Regions from separate parts of the Homo sapiens genome. Here regions 1, 2 and 4 are each linked to region 3. The links are contacts of gene promoters, found by promoter capture Hi-C in blood cells and fetal thymus (Javierre and others, 2016). All regions are on one chromosome and are shown on one strand. The core of a region is centred on a gene start or on the middle of the fragment in contact, and the rest is flanking DNA. Distances in the headings are between cores, read along the strand shown.

Region 1 (4,434 bases), core at 466-2,965, 1.4 Mb before region 3:
TATTTTTCCAACAGATTGAAAGGTTTTGGACAAAGATTCCATGAAAACCTCCTATAAACAGGAATTGGACAATTAAATACTGTTGTAATCAGCCTTTCTCCTGGTGGGTTCATAGCTCTGAGCTTCAAGTAAATACGGTTTGATCAAGAATGGCCTTTAAATGGGAGTGAGCCATTGTGCACCACGTCCGTTCTCACACTGCGATGCAGCTTTCCTAATGCCATGGGTCTGCTGTAGGTTTTGCTCAGTGATATTTGTTTTAGTGGATGAAGTTCTCATTTACCATAAGAGAGAGAAGTCAGGATAATTGTTTGATGAAATTATAGTATGCAGAATGGGAAACCACCCTTTTTTAAAACAAATATATCCTCACGTGTCAACTTCACAGTCAGGCTTCCTTTCTTGGGGAGAGCCCTTTCTCCATTCAGATCAAAGGTTAGCCTGTGAATTCTCCCCCAGAGAAATGTGGGAGCCCAGAGGTGGCTGAATATGACCAGCTAGAAGCAATGTCTTCTTAACTGGGCCACCAAGGAGCTTCAAGACCAGTGCACATTTTCTAGTTCAGTGGTTTTCAAATGCCAAGTTTTGATGCATTATTAGCTTGTGAAATAAATGTAGTGGCCTCTAACTAGCGTTTTGTAAAACAAAGTAAAATAGAGGAAACATTTTTAAACCAGATTTTTCCAAATGGAAGGGGAAGTTTTGTTTTTGTGAAACTTTGGTTTTGGGTATGGTTGTGTGTGGGTGTGTGCACTGTGATATTGTGTACAATGGTGATTTTTACAGTGGATCACTGACAGAGAATTTGGATAAACACCGTTGTAGTGCATCCAGGAGAGATTTGCAATCATAGGGAGAGGTCGTTTTAGACAATTACTCCTGCAAGTCATACATTTGAAGTTAAAACAACAGCCACAATGACAATAACAAAAACAGTAAACCTGGTAGGCAGGCAGGTGAGGGGTAGGGGAGGGGGTCAGGAAACATGAAAATGAAGAATCCTGGACTGGACTGGCTGCACTACTTGCGATTAAACTGCTAGACGTGTTCCTGCAGCTGGGAGGCAGCAGCCCTTCCCAGGAGCACCACATTGCCTGAGCAGAAGGTCCAAGTTATAATCTGGTGGGCAACCTTATGTTTAAAAACAGACACACAGACCTGCCAGCCTCACCTGGTATTGGCGAGAGAATCCTAAGGTGTTCGTTGCTAGTCTTGCTTGGGGGAGGTGAACACAAAACAACAGTGCATTAGAAAGAGCCTCGCCTTTGGAGTCAGACAGACCTGGGTCTCACTGTTAGCTCTGCCATTTATTAGCCCTTGGGCAAAACGTTTCATATTTCTCTTAGCCTCAGTTTCCACATCTGTCAATTGGGCATAAAAAGATATACTTCATAAGGTGGCTCTGAGGGTTAAGTAGAGTAGCCTATCTCGGACAGCCTAATAAGTATTCGTTCCCTCCACTTACCTTGTGTACCGTAGCTCCCCCTGCCACTGGGAAACAGACCACCTCGTAGGGAGGACGCTTTTCTTTTCCTTTGCCGTCATCGCTCATAGCGGTGCAAGCGCGTGGACAAGCAGTGGGAAGGGGATGGTCCAGGAGCCACACTCAGGACTCTAAAGAGGTACCTCAGGCAGTGATCCCCTGCCTGGAGTTGGACCCCCCTACAAAGAGCCAGGTTGTGGCAGTGACCTCCCCGTGATTCCGAGGGCTGCCACATCACCACCAAAGTCCAGCTCTCCTGCTTCGGCACAAGGCTGTGACTTGTCATTGATGTTTTGGGTCACGGACCTTTTCCACTCACGGAATTCCACTTCTGTTCTCCAAGCAGCTCTCTGTCTAACCAGTAACTGCGACTCTCCTCCAGGTGGAAGATCTCACCGCCAGCCATGATGCTGCTCTCCTAGAGATGGAAAATAACCACACAGTTGCCATCACAATCCTGCAGGATGACCACGACCACAAAGTCCAAGGTAGCTCCCAGCCTCGTGTGCAGCAGGCAGGGGTGGGTGGTGCAATCCGAGCCTTTCCTGCTGCAGATGTGTGGAGCCCCCCTTCCTCTCTTGTCCCTCCTTTCCTGTCTTTCCCTCCTGGTGCATTTTTTCCTGTTGGCTCCTGGGAAAAGAAGAGATAGGAATTAAGGATCCAGGTAGTTAGCTGCTTCTTTCCTCCAATGCAGTTATCCTCAACCTTGATGAATACTGGAATTCCCCGTCCCCTGGGGAGCGGTAACAAAAGACCAATGCCAGCCTCAGTCCCACCCCAGGGATTCTGATGTCCTTGGTCCATAGTGCAGTGTAAACATCAAGATTTCTTAAGACTCCTTAGGGGATTCTAATGTGTAGCCACACTTGAGGGCCACTGTCTAAAGCAGGCATGGAAATCGTGCACTTTTTTTTTTCCTCTTTTTTTTTTTTTTTTTTTTTGAGACAGAGTCTCACTTTGTTGCCCAGGCTGGAGTGCAGTGGTGCGATCTCAGCTCACTGAAACTTCTGCCTCCTGGGTTCAAGCGATTCTCCAGCCCCAGCTGGAGCCTCCAGCCCGAGTAGCTGGGATTACAGGTGCCCACTACCACACCCGGCTAGGCTTTATGATGTTTATTGCCTTATAAAAACAAATGGAAGCCCCGGCATGGATACACTTTCTTCATATTTATGATGTTCTCCGGGCCACTGCAGCATCTGGTTGGATCGGGGTATCCAGAGCTTACACTCATAGACCACATTCACCGTGGGTGTGCGTTAAGTCTCCAGATCTTTCTTTCTACATTTTTGTAACTTTGAATTATCTTTGGGTTTTACGTGGGTCATAACAGCATCATTACTAAGTTCCAGTGAGATTTTCCTTTGTGAAAGAGGCAGCATTTTACACTTTCACATGCATTTACATTAATATGTACAGTTTATTTTTCAACTTTCTCTCGCTTTACTTTTCCCTCCCAGTCAGCTGGTTGTTAAAGTGTGTATTAAAGGCCGGGAGCCGTGGCTCACACCCGTAATCCCAGCACTTTGGGAGGCTGAGGCAGGTGGATCACCTGAGGTCAGGAGTTCAAGACCAGCCTGGCAAACATGGCAAAACCCCGTCTCTACCAAAAATACAAAAATTAGCCAGGCGCGGTGGGCTGGCTACACGGGAGGTTGAGGCAGGAGAATCGCCTGAACCCTGGGAGGCAGAGGTTGCAGTGAGTCAAGATTGCGCCATTGCACTCCAGCAACAAGAGCGAAACTCCGCCTCAAAAAAAAAGTGTGTATTAAAAGCAATGACAGTTAACAATACATTGATAAACTTTTACAATTTGAGAATTAGCATCAGAGTTTTTATTATTGTTAAAATGTTCTCTGTGAACAAGACCCAGTGTGCCATAACCAAGGTCTGTGTTATTGTCACCCTCAAGCACCACCCCCACTACCTCTGGGAACTATTAGTAAGTGACCAAGCTGGAGGCAAGGGATGGTATTTTCCTGGGGACTAGTTAAATGGATTGCCTCGGTCCTGGTAGTGTGTTTCACACTGAGAGTACTGGTCTCTACCCTCGGCTACACATTGGAACCACCTGGAAGTTTTTAAAAATATACTGATGTGTGGCTCTTACCTCTGATATTCCAATTTAATTGCTCTGGGGTGCAGCCCAGGCATCAGAAGGCTTTAAAACTCCCTAGGTGATTCTAATACGCAGGAAAACTTGAGGACCATTGTGTTAAACACCGTATTAAGCGTGAGACAGTGTCATGAGCTTGAAATAAAGAAATACATGATGAAGACACAGTTAGCAATGGTTTATGTCATCTTCAGAATGGATACTGCCTCTTCTTTTCCCTTGGGGCATTGGGATCCTTTGAAAACGCCCTGAAATCTGTCACTAGAGGAAGCTGGTCTCACAAGAAAGAACGTGAGTGGAAATGGTGCAGTGAGCCATGGTGTTGCCTTTTCTTTCTGGATTTTCACATAAATCTGGTGGATTTTTCTGACTAACGAAGTCTCACTCAGACACCACATTCCAGGTCTTTGAATTATAAATGATGTCAAGGCCATGTGCGTGTAGGTAATGGTAGCTAAAAAATTTATTATTATGGTCAGGATGCTGCTCTCGATGACTGTAACACTAATCATTTAGTCAGAGGCAGGCAGACCGGAAAGGCCATATGGTTCTCTATCAATGAAATCAACACAAACATTTCTTTTCCAAATGTAAACGTCAGCTATAACAACTGGATTTCTTAGTGACCCTTACCACCATTAGTTAAAAGATTTGGGTCAATGAAAACCACAAAGTTTTTCCTAATTGCAGCACACGCCACCCAGAATGGTAATTGTCGGCCTCCAGTACGCTACCATTCTGAGCATATGATGCAGGCCGATTAATGAGACCCTCTTCCCTCTCATTATAACATGAAAACAAATTGCTTGTGTAGCCAGAATGAGATGGGCTTCACCCA
Region 2 (4,795 bases), core at 1,008-3,507, 1.1 Mb before region 3:
GGCAGGAGAATCGCTTGAACCCAGGAGGCAGAGGTTGCAGTGAGCCGAGATCGCGCCATTGCACTCCAGCCTGGGCAACAAGAGCAAAACTCCGTCTCAAAAAATAAAAATTAAATTAAAATTAAATTAAAATTAAAAAATAAAATAAAATTTAATCATCAGCAAAGTTCAATTTGTTTCCACTGAATACACAAACACTCAAATGTTAACATATGTGAGCACAACTACGTTAACTTCAATTCTTTCATAAACAGGATTATTCCTCTTCCTGGTAATTAAATGCATTATGTTTGTCCTTAGGACTGCAAAATGTAACTTCACACTCACACAAGCCCAGCCCCAGCACTGTAAGGTTACACGGTTACTGTTAGTCAACCGACTCACAACCTTACCCTTTATAAACAAAACAAAGAAAGGCGTCAATAAACAACAGTACTTTTTGTTTCAAGTTCTCAACACTCAGTGATCGAGGCTCAATACTATGTTTCCTTAGCTTTATGTCTAATATGGAATCTACTATTAATAAATATCTGGCATTAAAAAGCCCTGGAATATTCATTGTAAGTACCAATACAGGGTCAGCCTACGTTTCTGAAAATCCCAAAATATCTTTATATTTCTGTTGCCATCCGTATTCAGACATTTCAAAAACCTCACAGCAAATTCTAACATACTTTTTCTTGAAGAGATGTGCATCCCTGTTCTTGAAAAATATCAAGTTCGTCCCTACTGCAATGACGATCTCGTCTGTGTCATAAAGCAAGATTCCCGTTTCCCTACCTATTCTCTCGTAGGGACACCCGTCCTCAGCTCTGCCCACTGTCCCTGACGTTTTCAGAAACGTTAAAATACTAGTGTTCGGAGGCTTCTAGCGAAGAGGGAGATGTTTTGTCCCCTCAAGCTACCATGATACATTTCCCTACTTCTCCACTATCTTCAATGCTTTAGAAAACACGACCAAATGAGAGAACCCATATTAAAAGCAGTACTTCCTAAAAGGGGGAAACCAGAAGCTCCAACTTCTCCAAATCGCTCAGCACAGTGGCTTTTCGACAGTCCCCAGCAAATCTTCGCCCCACGCCTGCCGTCTTTCCGATTAAATAAGATTGGAAACCACAATTAAATCAGTGTCATAACTTATCCGTCACTTACCATATCCGCCGGGACATTACTGGACATCTTGCCGTTTGATATACACCCAGATGTTTACGAAAAAAACAAACAAAGAAAAAAGAGCAGAAGTCTTCACGTTACAGAAATAAACCACGATTTTGACTGGTTCGTGATGTGCTTTCTCCCCCAAAAATAAAGTTATTTTGGAGCCAAAGTGCCGGTCAGGCCGAGGTTCTGGTTCGAAGAGGAACAATCCCCAGGAGCTGTGTGGCCGGAGCAGGAGGAAACTCCCGGGACAGCAGAGGCAGCCCCCGTCGTCGTCGTCGTCGTCAACAGCAGCAGCAGCCCCAGGACCGGCCGCGCCAGGTGGACCGAGCCGAGTGACACACGGACATGGAGAGGGGTGGGAGGGGGTTAAATGCGCCTTCCTCCTTTCCCAGCCCCGGCAATGATTCACACTTGCTCCCGAGTCAAGTCCTCATTAAGCAGGAGAAAAATGCCCCAGCGTGGATGTACACAGATAACTATGTAGCTACACATCGACGCGTGAGCCTTGAGTGGCGGCCGAGCGGTGGCCGGACGCTGGCCGCGGACCCTGCAGAGCCGCTGTCGGAGCGCCCGCGCGGACAGCGCGGGGAAACGGCTCAACTCGCGCCGCGGGGGCGAAGAGCCGGGCCGCGGAAACCCGCGCTCAAGGGCATTTAACTAGTTGGAAGCCAAAGCGAAAGACCGGAGCGGGGGACCGACAGCGCGGGGGTGCTCGGGGCCGGCCGGGACACTCCACAGCCCCTCTGGGCTCAGGCCGCGGGCGCCTCCGGACAGCAGCTGGGGTCGGGGCGCATCGTCTCCGGCTCCTCGCCACTCCTCTTCTGCCTCCGCCTTCCCCGCCGCCGCCTCCCCGGTCTCCGCCTTCCCTTCCCCTCCCCTCCCCGGCCTCGCGAGCTCCGGGCGACGCCGACTTCGGCTGGTCCCCGGAAGAGGCCGGGTCCTCCTTCTCCTCAGCCCGGGAATGGTTTCCTCTCAGAGCTTTGTTTCTCCTCCTCCTCCTTCACTTTTCAGTCCCACACGCCGCGGCCGCCTCCTGTCATCGCCTCTCAAACCAACATGGCGGCAGCGGCGGCGGCGGCGGCTGCCTGAGTGCGACTAAGGGAAACGGGGAGAGCACGGGCCCCCCCTCGCAGCAGCCGCCGCCCCCGTCCTCGTCCTCCCTCCGCGGACACCAAGTGCGTCACCACGGAGACCATTCCCTCGAGCATCACGGGAAGTGTAGTCTACGAGGGTGGGGGGGGGAGGGAGCCGCCGAACGCCTCCTCACCCAGCTCCGAAGCCACGCCCCCCATAGCAACAGTTGCGAGGAAAGGAAAGCTCCCTTTCCCTTGCTTTGGACAAGCTGCTGCCCAGGAGTTAAGTGATACCTGCTACCAGGAGTGCTGTGATCATGAGAATTGTTGGGAGAAAATAATTCTGCATAGAGAAATTCCCTTATGCACGATATGCACACAGAGCTAAAATATGCTGTACCTCCAAGCAGAATCATTCATTTTAATTACAGCACATTCTCCACATCCTGCAATCTCAATGCATTTTGTAGAGTGATTTCATCTAGGTCTCCTCAACATTACATTTTGAAGAACAAAAGCAATCATTGATTTCCAATAAGGTCACATAAGTTCAACAGGAACAAGGATCTCATTAAGCAGTGAGAATATTTGAACATGTGTTTCCTTGAAGACCCAGGGCAATAAAGCTACAATCTACTTAACTGAAATTACCAAAACTGTATTACATACAACAGTGTTATTATATCAAATCTGTATCAGGAAATAGCTACTACAAACTTCATGGGGATTCACCAGTTTACCCATCTGGACCCTAAATTCTATTCTATGTAACTCATAATGTAATTGAAAACCTATATGCCTTGCAGTGATTAGCAAATAGGAGAAAATAATGCCATTGTTGAGACACCATTCAGATGGACATTTGTGATTTCTGCATTTTGTTCCTAAATCTGAGGTCAACATCTGAATCCCTATTCATATCTCTTAGTCCTTTGACAGAGTACTTTAGAAAGGGCAGTCTCAATATGATGCCTATATATAAATGCCAATGAATTTAGAGTCTGAAAGCCACCTCTCCAACCTACAGCTGTGTGACCTCATCTGTAAAATGGTCTTGCCTACCTTCCGGGGTAAAGTAGGGGTAGTTATGAGGATGAGTTCATGCATGGGAAATAAATCACTTTGTAAATAATAATGCATCATTTGATATGAAATGTCACTACTCATTCTCTCATTCAGCAAACAAATGTGCCAGGCACTCTGCTAGGCACTAGGAGTTTAAAAATGAGTCACTGTAGCGAACAGCAGCATCATGTGGCAGAAATGCCAAGGTCTTGGGTTGGCAATGGGGGTTATTACATCCTTGTCTATAGGGCTGTTGAAAAGAGGCAGAATCCAGTCACTGTCCTCAGGGAGCTCATTGTCTAGAAGCCTACGTGATTCCCCACAGCAATCTCTCCAGTTGGGTTTCTCATCAGTTGGAAACCCACAGGACATTTAGAGTACCTGCCTCTTGAGTAGCCTGGGTGGAGAAATTCCAAACACTCCTAAGGGCCTATATCACCCTGAGGAAGATAGATCAAATTCTCCGAAAAACCAAAGGCCAGAAGAGAAGAGAGGCCCAAATCTCACTGTGATTAGGCTTCAGGACTTTGTCTAGATATTTCCAAGTCCATAGTTACGTGATTTTCCATGGCCTTTGTTACTTGGTTGCTCATTTGCAATGTTTAGCAACCACAGAGTCCCCCTACCCCTACACCAGCCCCCCAGGAAATAAGGGCAGGTGAAAATACTTCAATTGACCAATGAGCTCAGAAGGAATATTGGAGCACATTTTGAAAGCTCTAACTCACAGAGTTAGTCCCTCCACCATACCCTTGACTCCAACTTTTATCCAATGACCTCCCTGGCCATGGCACTGCCTGGCCATGGCACTGCCGGGCCTAAGTGCCACTGTAAGTAGAAAGGCAAGAGTTGCTGTTTGCTGCAGGTTACCACTGCCACCTTTACAAAAGGCAATGTCTTTCAAAAGTCGCTGTGTTTCCAATTACTCTTCTAAGAGGGGCTGAGACATTATTCTCAATAAAACTCATTATAACTCATCCCTAACATTGTTAAGGCATGAGGTAACATTATTGGACACAGTTGCAGATTTTTCCACTCTTTCTTTTCTCTTTGCTTCCCAGCTCAGGCGGGTGAGGTGGGAGGCTGTAGAAAGGAGTTCAGCTGTCCCAAGCAGGAAAAGGTAGCATCTTCTTGACACCAGGAATCTATTGTCAGCATCAGTTGGAAGAAAGTGAATGACACAGCATTTTTGTAATGGGAAAAATAACTTCATAGGAAGTCAAAAGACCTGGCTCTGCCACGAATTAGTTATGTGACCTTTTGCCTCTCTGAGTTTCAATTTCTTCATCTGAGAAGCTTGAACTAAATCTCTAAGGTCCCTTCTAAGAGTCTATGAGTGTCAAGTCCTGGAAAAATAGGGCATGACACCGATGGCCTGTTAAAAATATCTTCCCTAAGTGACTACTTATGGGTAGGAGGGATTTTGGGGGAACAGGGAAGGTGGAATGATGACAACCTAAAATTAGATTTTGGCGATGGTTGTAGAACTCTGTAAA
Region 3 (4,344 bases), core at 604-3,103:
TCATTTACAGATAAGGAGACCAGGGATCAGGGAAGGATTTGCTTACCCCTAAGGGCCTGCAGTGACAGAAAGATCCTTTGGCTCTCTATTTGGTTCCTACCGCACCATTTCACAGCTTGCCTAAAATGAGACAAATTGTAAGATATTAATAAGAATTCACTTTCAAAATTCTATATACTTGCTGCTCTATTTTAAACATATATTTCTCTTAAATTATGCTATGCTAATTAGCTCTACCATTTCCAGACAGTAATCTGTTATTGGGTGCTACTTTTTAAATTTAGATGCCACTACTAAATCCTAATTTAGACTCATTCCTTTTAATAACATCTATGCCTTCTAATGTGTTCCACCCTCCATTGCTTCAAAACATGAGAGTTTATAATGTGTTATATTCATTCCATTATATGGATAGAACTCTACCTTCAGGAAATTCTAGTTTAGCTCTTCATTTTAAAGACATTCCTTGCACATATATTTGGGATCCTTACCTTGATGCTTTTTCTGTCTCCTTTGATAAATTCCTCCTTTGTCACACTGCACTGTTTCTCTGAGGTCTTGTATTAGAATAGCCCCTTAAGAATAAGGAACTGTTGTAAATTGCTTTGTAAACAGGTTGCCAGCCAACTCCAAAATGTATTTCCTGTCTTCTCTTTTCACCCAAGTGGGTAATAACTGTGTTGTAACCTGGAGACAGTCAGTAGTTACTAACCACCTAGTATGTCAAATTACCAGGTAAGGTTATCCAGCAAAAGGGGCTCACTGCACTAGAAGCCAACACTATGACACCAAGTTTTTGAGAAAAGGAAAGCTTCACATTGCAAGTTAACTTCTGAGGAAACAAAAGTCCAGTTCAAATCTGTCTTGTACTGGCTTTAGGGCAGTAATTTTATTACAAAAGGTTTAGGGTTGGATCCTGGGGTTAGCAGGTGATTGGTGGAAGCAAAGGGAACATCTGGGAAGTCTTCAGGCATGCATGGCTCTCTCTTCATGCTTCCTGGTGGGTCCCATGTGCAAATTTGGAGGGAGTTGGTATGAAACATGCAGTAGAAATTCAGGCTGTGACATCAGCAAGCTTGCTGTGCGCAAACTGCATTTGGCCATATTGATTCCGGCTGATTTCAGTCAGTTTTGTTATAAGCAGAGGGAGTTTCAGCAAATTGTTTCTTTTCTTATCTGCCCCTGAAAACAAGAATTTCTGTTAGTTATTGGTGTCTTTGACTCTTTGAAACAGTTTCAGTAGTTCCCAAGATATGAAGATAAAAGACCCCCTTCATCAGTGAAAACTCTTACAAGGGGATGAAAGACACAGCTTCCTCTATGAGAGCACAAGAACAATTAAATTGACCCTCACAAACACTATGGTTGGTGCCAGGAACGTGGCCTGGTGAGGAGGACAGTGTCACATCCTCCCTGCCCACTCCTGTTTCCACGCGTGCATTTCCTCTTCTGCCCCTCTCCTAAGCCAGGATGACCCTTCTGACCGCGTGGAACTATCACAGAAACTGCTTCCATTTATACCAGATGACTTGGGATTCAGTCTTCTTGCTTGGTTTTTATTGACTGCAAAAATCCATGACAACTTTGCGCACATTTGCTTAAGCTGAAAGCAAATGGATGAAAGTTTGTAGTTGAAAATCTACTTTCTCTTCAATCTCTTCCCTTTTTGCTTTTCTTAGGAAACATACAAGACAGTGGTCCGGAAAGCTCACTGCAAGAACTGTACAAATAATGTAAAAGTAAGGCATCCATAAGATCAAAGCCACATTTCTTTGCTCTCTGCACCCCATTCCCGCGCCGGCCAGGTTAAGCCTCCTGCGTGGCCAGCACCCCTTGGCAGGGGCAGAACTCCCTGGAACCCGATCCTTGTCTCCATGGCGACGCGTCACAAAGCAGCCCGCGGCTCCCGCAAGCGCTGAGATAGCTGGAGCCAGGGCCCCGCGGCCGCCTCCTGGGGCAGAATGGAACAGCCTGGGCCCAGGGCTCCGGATCCCTCTCTCTGCCACCACAACCTCCAGCCAAGTAAGACAGCAGACTCTGCCGGTCTGCGGGGCGGGGCTGGGGTCTTTCCCGGGGAAAGGGTCCTGTTGAGAAAAAGGGGCCTTAGTATTTAAGGGTGTGGCATCGCTCTTAGGAGTATGCTCAACTGAGGAAAAGACGGGGAGTCAGGGAGAATGACAGGGCCTTCATGACGCTGCCCCTTTTCAGTCCTTCGCATAACCTTTGCCAAATCCCCGCTCCCTAAAACGCGCAGGGTTTTTAAACACTCGAGGAAGTGCCTGGCTAAGAGGGGACAGGAAAAAAGGAAGAACTGGTGATTTTCCAAGGAAAACAGGGCCAAAGGCAAAGAAGAAAGAGAAGTCCTGGAAGCTCTGAAGAGAACAGGTCCTGCCTGAGTCCCGATCCCCATATAGGATCTTGGAAACAGCAAGGAAAGTGGGGGAAGGGTTGGCTGCTGAATGGAGTCCCAGCTGTGTCTGCAGAGGCAGACGCCCTCCCTGGGCTGTCGCACCAGGCTGGGAGCCATGGCCTTCAGCTGCCGCCTCTAACCTGAATTGATTTTTCTTCCACAGAGATTTTGTATTTCACAGAGGTAGTGCTTTTCATCCTAATTCTGCCCACAGATGCAGCAGGTTCACCAGTTCAGCCTTTTGGGTCTGTGGAGGGAGAACCACTCTAGCTGTGACGCTAGTGGCATGATTACCGTGTAGTCAGCTCCATCATAGTCTCTTGTGGCAATAATTGGCCATTGCTGCTGTATAGTTGGGTAACTGTGATTCCACAGTGGCTATGGAGCAGTGAAGGATTGTTCAAGTACAAATTCCCTAGAATTGTGCTCCCAAAAGAGTGAATGAAATGCATATTTTCATTCCAATTCATTCCGTTGTAAATTAAGAATGGAAAATGAAAATACTTAATTAGTGCAGAAAATATCTAATACACTCAGTTTCTATATGATGGGAAGGCAAACAGGAGAGACAGAGGAGGGAGGATCCCCTCCTAGCATCCCGACAGCACCCCTTTGGATGCTTCTCTTCCCTTTCTAACCACCCTGTTTTCCCACTGTCTCCCCATTTCATCCCCTTCTTGTCTGGGAACTGTTGGAGTCCCCCAGGATTGATCCTTCTAGGCTTACCTTCTCTTTGTGACCATATCCTGCACAGGGCTTCAAGTGCTGCATAAAGGTGCCAACAACTCTCTAACCTTTATCTCTGACTTGGACTTTCTTCCTACTTTTTCAGACCAGAATATCTAACTGTCTACCAGACAGTTCCATGTGGGTGTCACAGCAGGGCCTCCAACTTGACATGTGCAAAATCACACTCCTTGTCCTCCTCAAACCTTCCAGACTTTGAGAGTTCAGTTAAGAGGGTCCTAGCTGCTCAATTTAGAAGGGAAGGCAGCTTCCTTGAGACTGCAGTTTGATCACCAGGTCTCTTTGATTCTGCCTCCAAAGCTCTTTTTCCCCCAGGTGAATTCGCCCCTTTACCTCCAGGCTTGGGCCTCTAATGGCTACTCTGTGCCACTTCATTCCCCACTGCTGGGAGAGTCACCCTCCAAATGGTAGGCTTGATGTGTCCCCACTGCCCAGGTTTGGTCCGAAATAGGATGAGGTTGATGGTGACTGATGACTAACTGTTATTGAATAATTACTACAGATGGGGCTCTCAGGTGTTGTATTAGTTTCCTGTGGCTGCTATGTGTTCCCACAGACTGGTGGATTCAAACAACAAAAATGTATTTGCTCACAGCTCTGAAGGTCGAGAGCCTGAAATCAAGGTCTGGACAAGTCTGCACTCCCTCTACAGGCCCTAGGGGAGAAGTGGTCCTTACGTCTTCCAGCTTCAGGTAGCCATCGGCACTGCTAGTGATGGCAGTGGCTGCTGCCATCATGCTGGCTGCAGCAGGGAAGCACAGCTGGGGCTGCAACACTCCATGGAGCCCGTGGGAGCTGCCCCTTCTGAGTTGGGATGGGAGCTCCCTGTGCCGCTACAGCCGCCCAAACTGCAGCTACAGACCCAGGCCTCCTGCTCTATGGAGCAAGCAGGAGCCCTGCAGTCCTGGGCGAGGCTACAGCCACCCAAACTGCGGCTGTGGGTCTGAGCCTCCCTGTGCCTCTGAGCCTCCCTGTGGAACCCACGGCTGCAGACCTGGGCCTTTCACTCCATGAAGCAGGCAGGAGCCAGGGACAAGTGGGAGCTTTGCCTCTTCCAAGTTGGTGGGGCAAGAGCTCCCTGGTGCAGCTGCAGCTGCCCTCCCAGGCACAGGACCTGGGCATCTCTGCAGCCTGCACCCTTGGACTCCCCAGGAAGGACACCCTTCACCCATCCATCCCTGCAGGCT
Region 4 (4,957 bases), core at 1,508-4,007, 1.3 Mb before region 3:
AGAAGGCGGCAGGGGAGCAAAGGGAGGCCATGGGCAGCAAGGAGACAGAGGCTGAAGAGACCCCCCAGATTTGGCGAGAGGAGCCAGTAAAGCTAGGTGAAGGGGAAGGAGGCCAGCAGCCTGGACGGGTGGCTGCAACACACAGGCAGGCACCTGAGAGGGGCCCCAAGAAGATACATCTTCCAGCCCTGACCCTGGGGATAAGAGTTCTAAAAAGGTCAGTTGTGACTTTCAAAAAGTCCCTCTTCCATCCAACACGTTCTTTGCTCAGCCTTCCCATCTCATTAATACAGCAACTCCGATGTGCTTGGAGTCATATTTGACCTTTCTCGTCCTTCCATGAATCCACCGGCCAATCCTATTGGATCTGCCTTTAAAATCTATCCAGGTCTGCAGGGGCCAACTATACAGAAAAACACCACATCCTATCGGAAGGTCTTGCTTGGAGTGAGGACCAAGAGGCAGGTGGAGTGATAGGCATCTCTGAAGATGCCTCTGGAAGAGATAACTCCGAGACTCAAGTATCTCCAAGGTTAGAGGGAAACAATATTTTTCTCCATAACAAGGATGCACTTATTCACATTTCAAATTTGTCCCTAGGATTAATAGCAATCCCTCCAAATACATGGTTGATAATGAGAAAGGATTAATTTAATTGGACATAATTCTGAGCCCTCCAACATAATTATCTATTTGTATGGACTTTGGTTAAAATAAACTACAGACCAGAATAATCAATCAACACGTATTTAATTCCATCAAAGAATGAGTTCTTCTACCAAATAGAAAATTGTAACTCCCTGAAGTCAACAGTCTTGTCTTTCAAGCCTTTCTTTTTTTTTTTCACCTAAAGCAAGTAATCATATGTACAGGAGCACGTGGCTCTAGGATCCAGACCCAGACAAGGGAGTACATTTCTGATCTACTTACTAAGCCCTTTCCTCTTTACTCAAAACTCCTTTGACATCCTTTGAATTTTACCTTTATAATAATTAAACATGATCGTAATATGCTAAACCTATTTTTAAAACCATTTTAATCTATTGTTGACCTTTCCCCTAAGTTTCTATTCTGTTCGTGTGACTTAAATAAGACCTTTTGTTTTAATAACAGGAGGGTGTGTTCATATAAAAATCATGGTAATTTCCACTGAGATCAACTAAAAATACCAGAGGAATAAATGTATCATGGTTTCCTATTATCTGAACCAAACATAAAGGGCAAGAAATGTTAGGAAAAATCCCAGATAAATTATAATTCGAATTAAATACAATTAGGGCATTCGGCCAGAGGCCGACATACACAATTCTACTAGTCGAATGTAAGTAAGATAAAAGGCACATTCTTTAGGGAGATACACCTGGGATTGAAATCTCAACCATCTGGTAACTATGTCTGGACTAAAACCCAACACATGAGGGCATGGCGGTGATGACGTGAGTATTGGGAAATGTAGGTTATTTATTTATTTTTTTCCTGAAGGCACATGTCTGACTATCCTAGTCACACAAGTCAAACACAACTGCTGTCTGGTTCCCCCATCCCCTGGAAAGGGTCAGGAGCTGAACCAGCAGGCTGTTGTAGTACTACAGTGCAGCTGCCGCTCTGTGTACGCGCAGGTTTTAGAATGACTCTGACCTGCCCATGCCTGGGAAGTTTTCTACTACGCAGAAAGGAACACCCTGAGAATACGGTGTCTTGCTAAAGGCGGAAGAACTTCCTCTCATTCCAAACCATGTGGAGGGCTTGAGGAACCCGGCCTTTCCAGGCCACACTGGGTCACAAGGAAGCCCACCTAGGGGAGACTTCCTCAAAGCAATCTTGGGGACCCAGACGAGAGGTGCAGGCGGCGCGTCCCGGGTTCTAGGGACAAGCGGAGAGCCAGGCGCCCTAGGTCAGGGCGGCCACCGGGCGGGGATGGCAGCAGAGTCCCTGGGCCGGCCACCTGCCGCGGGACCACCCTCCGGGCGGCCGGGCAGAGTCCCCACCCACGGCTGATGACACATCCCCGGACCTCGTGGCGGGGCGGGGTGCTCTGCACCGCGCCATGTAAGGGAAGGTCTCCTCGCCGCCGGCGGGCTCCGTGTGCCTCCCAGTCTGGCCCCCGTGCCCGCCGCCCGCCTACGCACCCCGACCACCCCGTGCGTAGCGGCGCGCGGGTCCCCGGACAGGCGCGCGGAGCGGGCATCGCCAGATCGCCCACGCTTACTCACTCGGTGTTGCATCATGCACCACGCCGCGGTTTCAGGGAGCCAAAATGGACTCCGTGGAGGCGACAGTCGCATGGGCACCAGCCCCGCTCGCCCACTCCGGGGCCCGCCCGGCCCTGGTCCTGGCCCTTCCCAGAGGATGGCAGCGTTCCCGGCGCGGGGGCCCTCGCCACTCCCGCGCCGCCCTGCCGCGGCCCCACGCGGCGCCAGGGCCCCCTCCGTGATGACCCGGGCCCAAGGAGCTGCCCCCTGCGTTGGCGGGGCCGGGCACTCACCAAGCCGGCGGCGGCGGGGCTCCGGCAGGATCGCGAACAGACAGACTGTCGGACGCGCTCAAGGACCAACGGACGCTCGGCCGGCGAGACCGGGCGGGGCGGGGCGGGGCGGGGGCGCGGCGCGCGGGGAGAGGAGTGGAGGCTGCGGTTAGCGGGAGCCCGCGGCCGCGTGCGCGCCTGCCAGGTAGTTGACCCGCTGCTCACACCTGCCTGCGCGGACTGAATGGGCGCCGAGGGCTGGCGGGTTCCGGCGCCAGGTTTCATCAGCAGTGCGCCCGGCCCCCGCCCCTCGCGCTCCGCGCCCCGCGCCCCACGCCCGCCCCCGGACCAGGCAGCCCCGGCCCGCTCGGCCGCGTCACCGCCGGGCACCAATGGGAGCGCGGCGCGGCGGCGGCTGCCAGCCCAGAGGCTGCGGCCGGGGACCGACGCGCCCTTGGTGGGCGGGGCGGCTGAGTCTTCGCGCGCCCAGCGCCCCAACCTGGGGTTCCCGCGGCGGGCGGGCGGGCTGCGCCTCCGCTCGCCTTCTCAGTAGCTCCGTAGGCGTGTGGCCGTTTCTCCGCCAATCTGAGCGCACCGCGCCACAGCATCCTGTGGTCCCCTGCAGATCCCACAGCGCCCTGGCCAGAACTAGTGCTGCAGGTCCGGCCGTGCCAACCCCCTCCCGGCGGGCCCCAGGGAGCTCACACGGAACTCGAGACCAGTTTTCCTTCTCCAAAATAAAAGATTTGGTATGCACTTAAAAGGTTTAAACTGTTTTCTTTTCATTTTAGAGACAGGGTGTTACTCTATTGCCCAGGCTGGAGCGCAGTTCACCTTAACCTCGAAATCCTGGCCTCAAGCGATCCTCCCGCCTGGGCCTCCCAAAGCGCCCTAGGATTACAGTCCTGAAACACTGCACCGGCCTAAAAATTATTATAAATCTTCATGTCTTTGTTATTGGATTATTTTATTACTATTCCTTTGCCCTTGCTAATACCTTATCCTTGCCAGTTGTCAGAAGAGCCCCAAAGCTTGAATCTACCTGTGCCCCCTTGGCAGTGGCAAATGCACAAACGGCTAGTCAGAACGGCTCACTTTTGCAGTTACCCCCCAGGAAGTGGCAGAAGCTTCAGTCCTGAATCACACCGTGCTCACCTTTTAAGCTCCCTCCTTGTCTCCTTTTGTACCAAAAGCCAAGCGAGAATCATAATCTTTAAAGATCCAGTGATCTGGGACTTGGGATAGGTAAACAGGGCATAAATTAATAATGCCATCCTTCTTCTATCTTATAGGAAAACAGAAAAACAGTGGACGGTGTCCGTGGTCTTTGAATCCTTTCTACAGGTCCTTCTCAAATATCAGCTGCTGAACTATTCCCTTGGAATTAGACTAGCAATTTATAAAGTACATAACTGCATGGTGCTAGCTTCAGAAAAAGTGTTCTGTTGTTGTTGCTGTTGTCATTTGTTTGTTTTTTAGAGACAGGGGTCTCACTCTGTCACCCAGGCTGGAATGCAGCGGTACAATCATAGCTCACTGGAACTTCAAATTCCCAGGCTCAAGCCATCCTCCTGCCTCAGCCTCCCAAGCAGATGGAACTACAGGCTTGTGTCATCACGCCTAGTTAATATTTTTTCTACATATAGACACGGGTTTTTGATATGTTGCATAGGCTGGCCTCAAATACCAGCTGTCTAGCGATCATTTTGCCTCAACCTCCCCTAGCATCGGGACTACAGGGATGAGCCAGAAAAAGTCCCCAGAAAAAGTTTTAATGAACACATGCAGATGGCTTAGCAGTTGTAAAATGTGTTTTTGTCTTTGTTTTAGAGAGTGGGTCTCACTCTGTCACCAAGTTGGAGTGCAGTGGCAACATCATAGCTCACTGCAGCCTTGAACTCCTAGGCTCAAGCGATCGCCTCACTTTAGCTTCCCCAGTAGCTGGAAATATAGGCGAGCACCATCCTGCCCAGCTTTGTAATGTGCTTTGAACAGTGCTTGACATCATAGTAAGCCACCATATATGCTTTGTTTTAAAGCAACAAATCTGGCCTGTCACGGTGGCTCACGCCTGTAATCCAGCACTTTGGGAGGGCAAGGCAGGCAGATCATGAGGTCAGCAGATTGACACCATCCTGGCCAACATGGTGAAACCCCGTCTCTACTGAAAATACAAAAATGATCTGGGCGTGGTAGCGCACGCCTGTAGTCCCAACTACTCGGGAGGCTGAGGCAGGAGAATCACTTGAACCCAGGAGGCGGCGGTTGCAGTGAGCCAAGATCGCACCACTGCGCCCCAGCCTGGTGACAGAGCGAGACTCCGTCTCAAAAAAATAATAATAAAAATCAATAAAAAATAAATAAAACAATGTATCTTAGTTCAATTGCACAGTGGTGAAATGATGCCTTCCATTCACAGAAGATCTCCCAGATCCCACGCAGCCTACTCTGTCTGCTGAGGCCACAGTAAGCATGTCCCCTTCTCACAGAGAG

The links. The method cuts DNA at HindIII sites, captures the fragments that hold promoters and counts their contacts. A CHiCAGO score of 5 or more calls a contact.
Region 1: the fragment with the promoter of MTUS2-AS1 here is called in contact with the fragment with the promoter of TEX26-AS1 in region 3 in 8 of 17 cell types (naive CD8 T cells, fetal thymus, total CD8 T cells and 5 more); the score reaches 12.7 in naive CD8 T cells.
Region 2: the fragment with the promoter of UBL3 here is called in contact with the fragment with the promoter of TEX26-AS1 in region 3 in 2 of 17 cell types (endothelial precursors and M0 macrophages); the score reaches 7.0 in endothelial precursors.
Region 4: the fragment with the promoter of SLC7A1 here is called in contact with the fragment with the promoter of TEX26-AS1 in region 3 in 4 of 17 cell types (neutrophils, total B cells, total CD4 T cells and 1 more); the score reaches 12.9 in neutrophils.

What each region holds. Positions count from the first base shown.
Region 1 is chr13:29,486,035-29,490,468 of GRCh38, forward strand. It overlaps MTUS2-AS1 (MTUS2 antisense RNA 1), which reads right to left and starts at 1,716. Exons shown (of 3, transcript NR_046378.1): 1 at 1,466-1,716. MTUS2 (microtubule associated scaffold protein 2) reads left to right here. Exons shown (of 16, transcript NM_001033602.4): 11 at 1,866-1,971. The HindIII fragment of the contact is 24,751 bases long and covers 1-4,434 here.
Region 2 is chr13:29,848,360-29,853,154 of GRCh38, forward strand. UBL3 (ubiquitin like 3) reads right to left here and starts at 2,258. Exons shown (of 5, transcript NM_007106.4): 1 at 1,153-2,258. The coding sequence starts at 1,179. RefSeq lists enhancers at 824-893, 1,364-1,433, 2,104-2,173 and silencers at 1,734-2,033, 2,304-2,413. The HindIII fragment of the contact is 5,102 bases long and covers 1-4,593 here.
Region 3 is chr13:30,930,755-30,935,098 of GRCh38, forward strand. It overlaps TEX26-AS1 (TEX26 antisense RNA 1), which reads right to left and starts at 1,854. Exons shown (of 4, transcript NR_038287.1): 1 at 492-1,854; 2 at 47-120. TEX26 (testis expressed 26) reads left to right here and starts at 1,902. Exons shown (of 7, transcript NM_152325.3): 1 at 1,902-2,022. The coding sequence starts at 1,962. The HindIII fragment of the contact is 4,425 bases long and covers 1,074-4,344 here.
Region 4 is chr13:29,592,931-29,597,887 of GRCh38, forward strand. SLC7A1 (solute carrier family 7 member 1) reads right to left here and starts at 2,758. Exons shown (of 13, transcript NM_003045.5): 1 at 2,486-2,758. RefSeq lists enhancers at 1-55, 56-555, 1,645-1,774 and silencers at 1,422-1,716, 1,885-3,124. The HindIII fragment of the contact is 14,376 bases long and covers 1-3,493 here.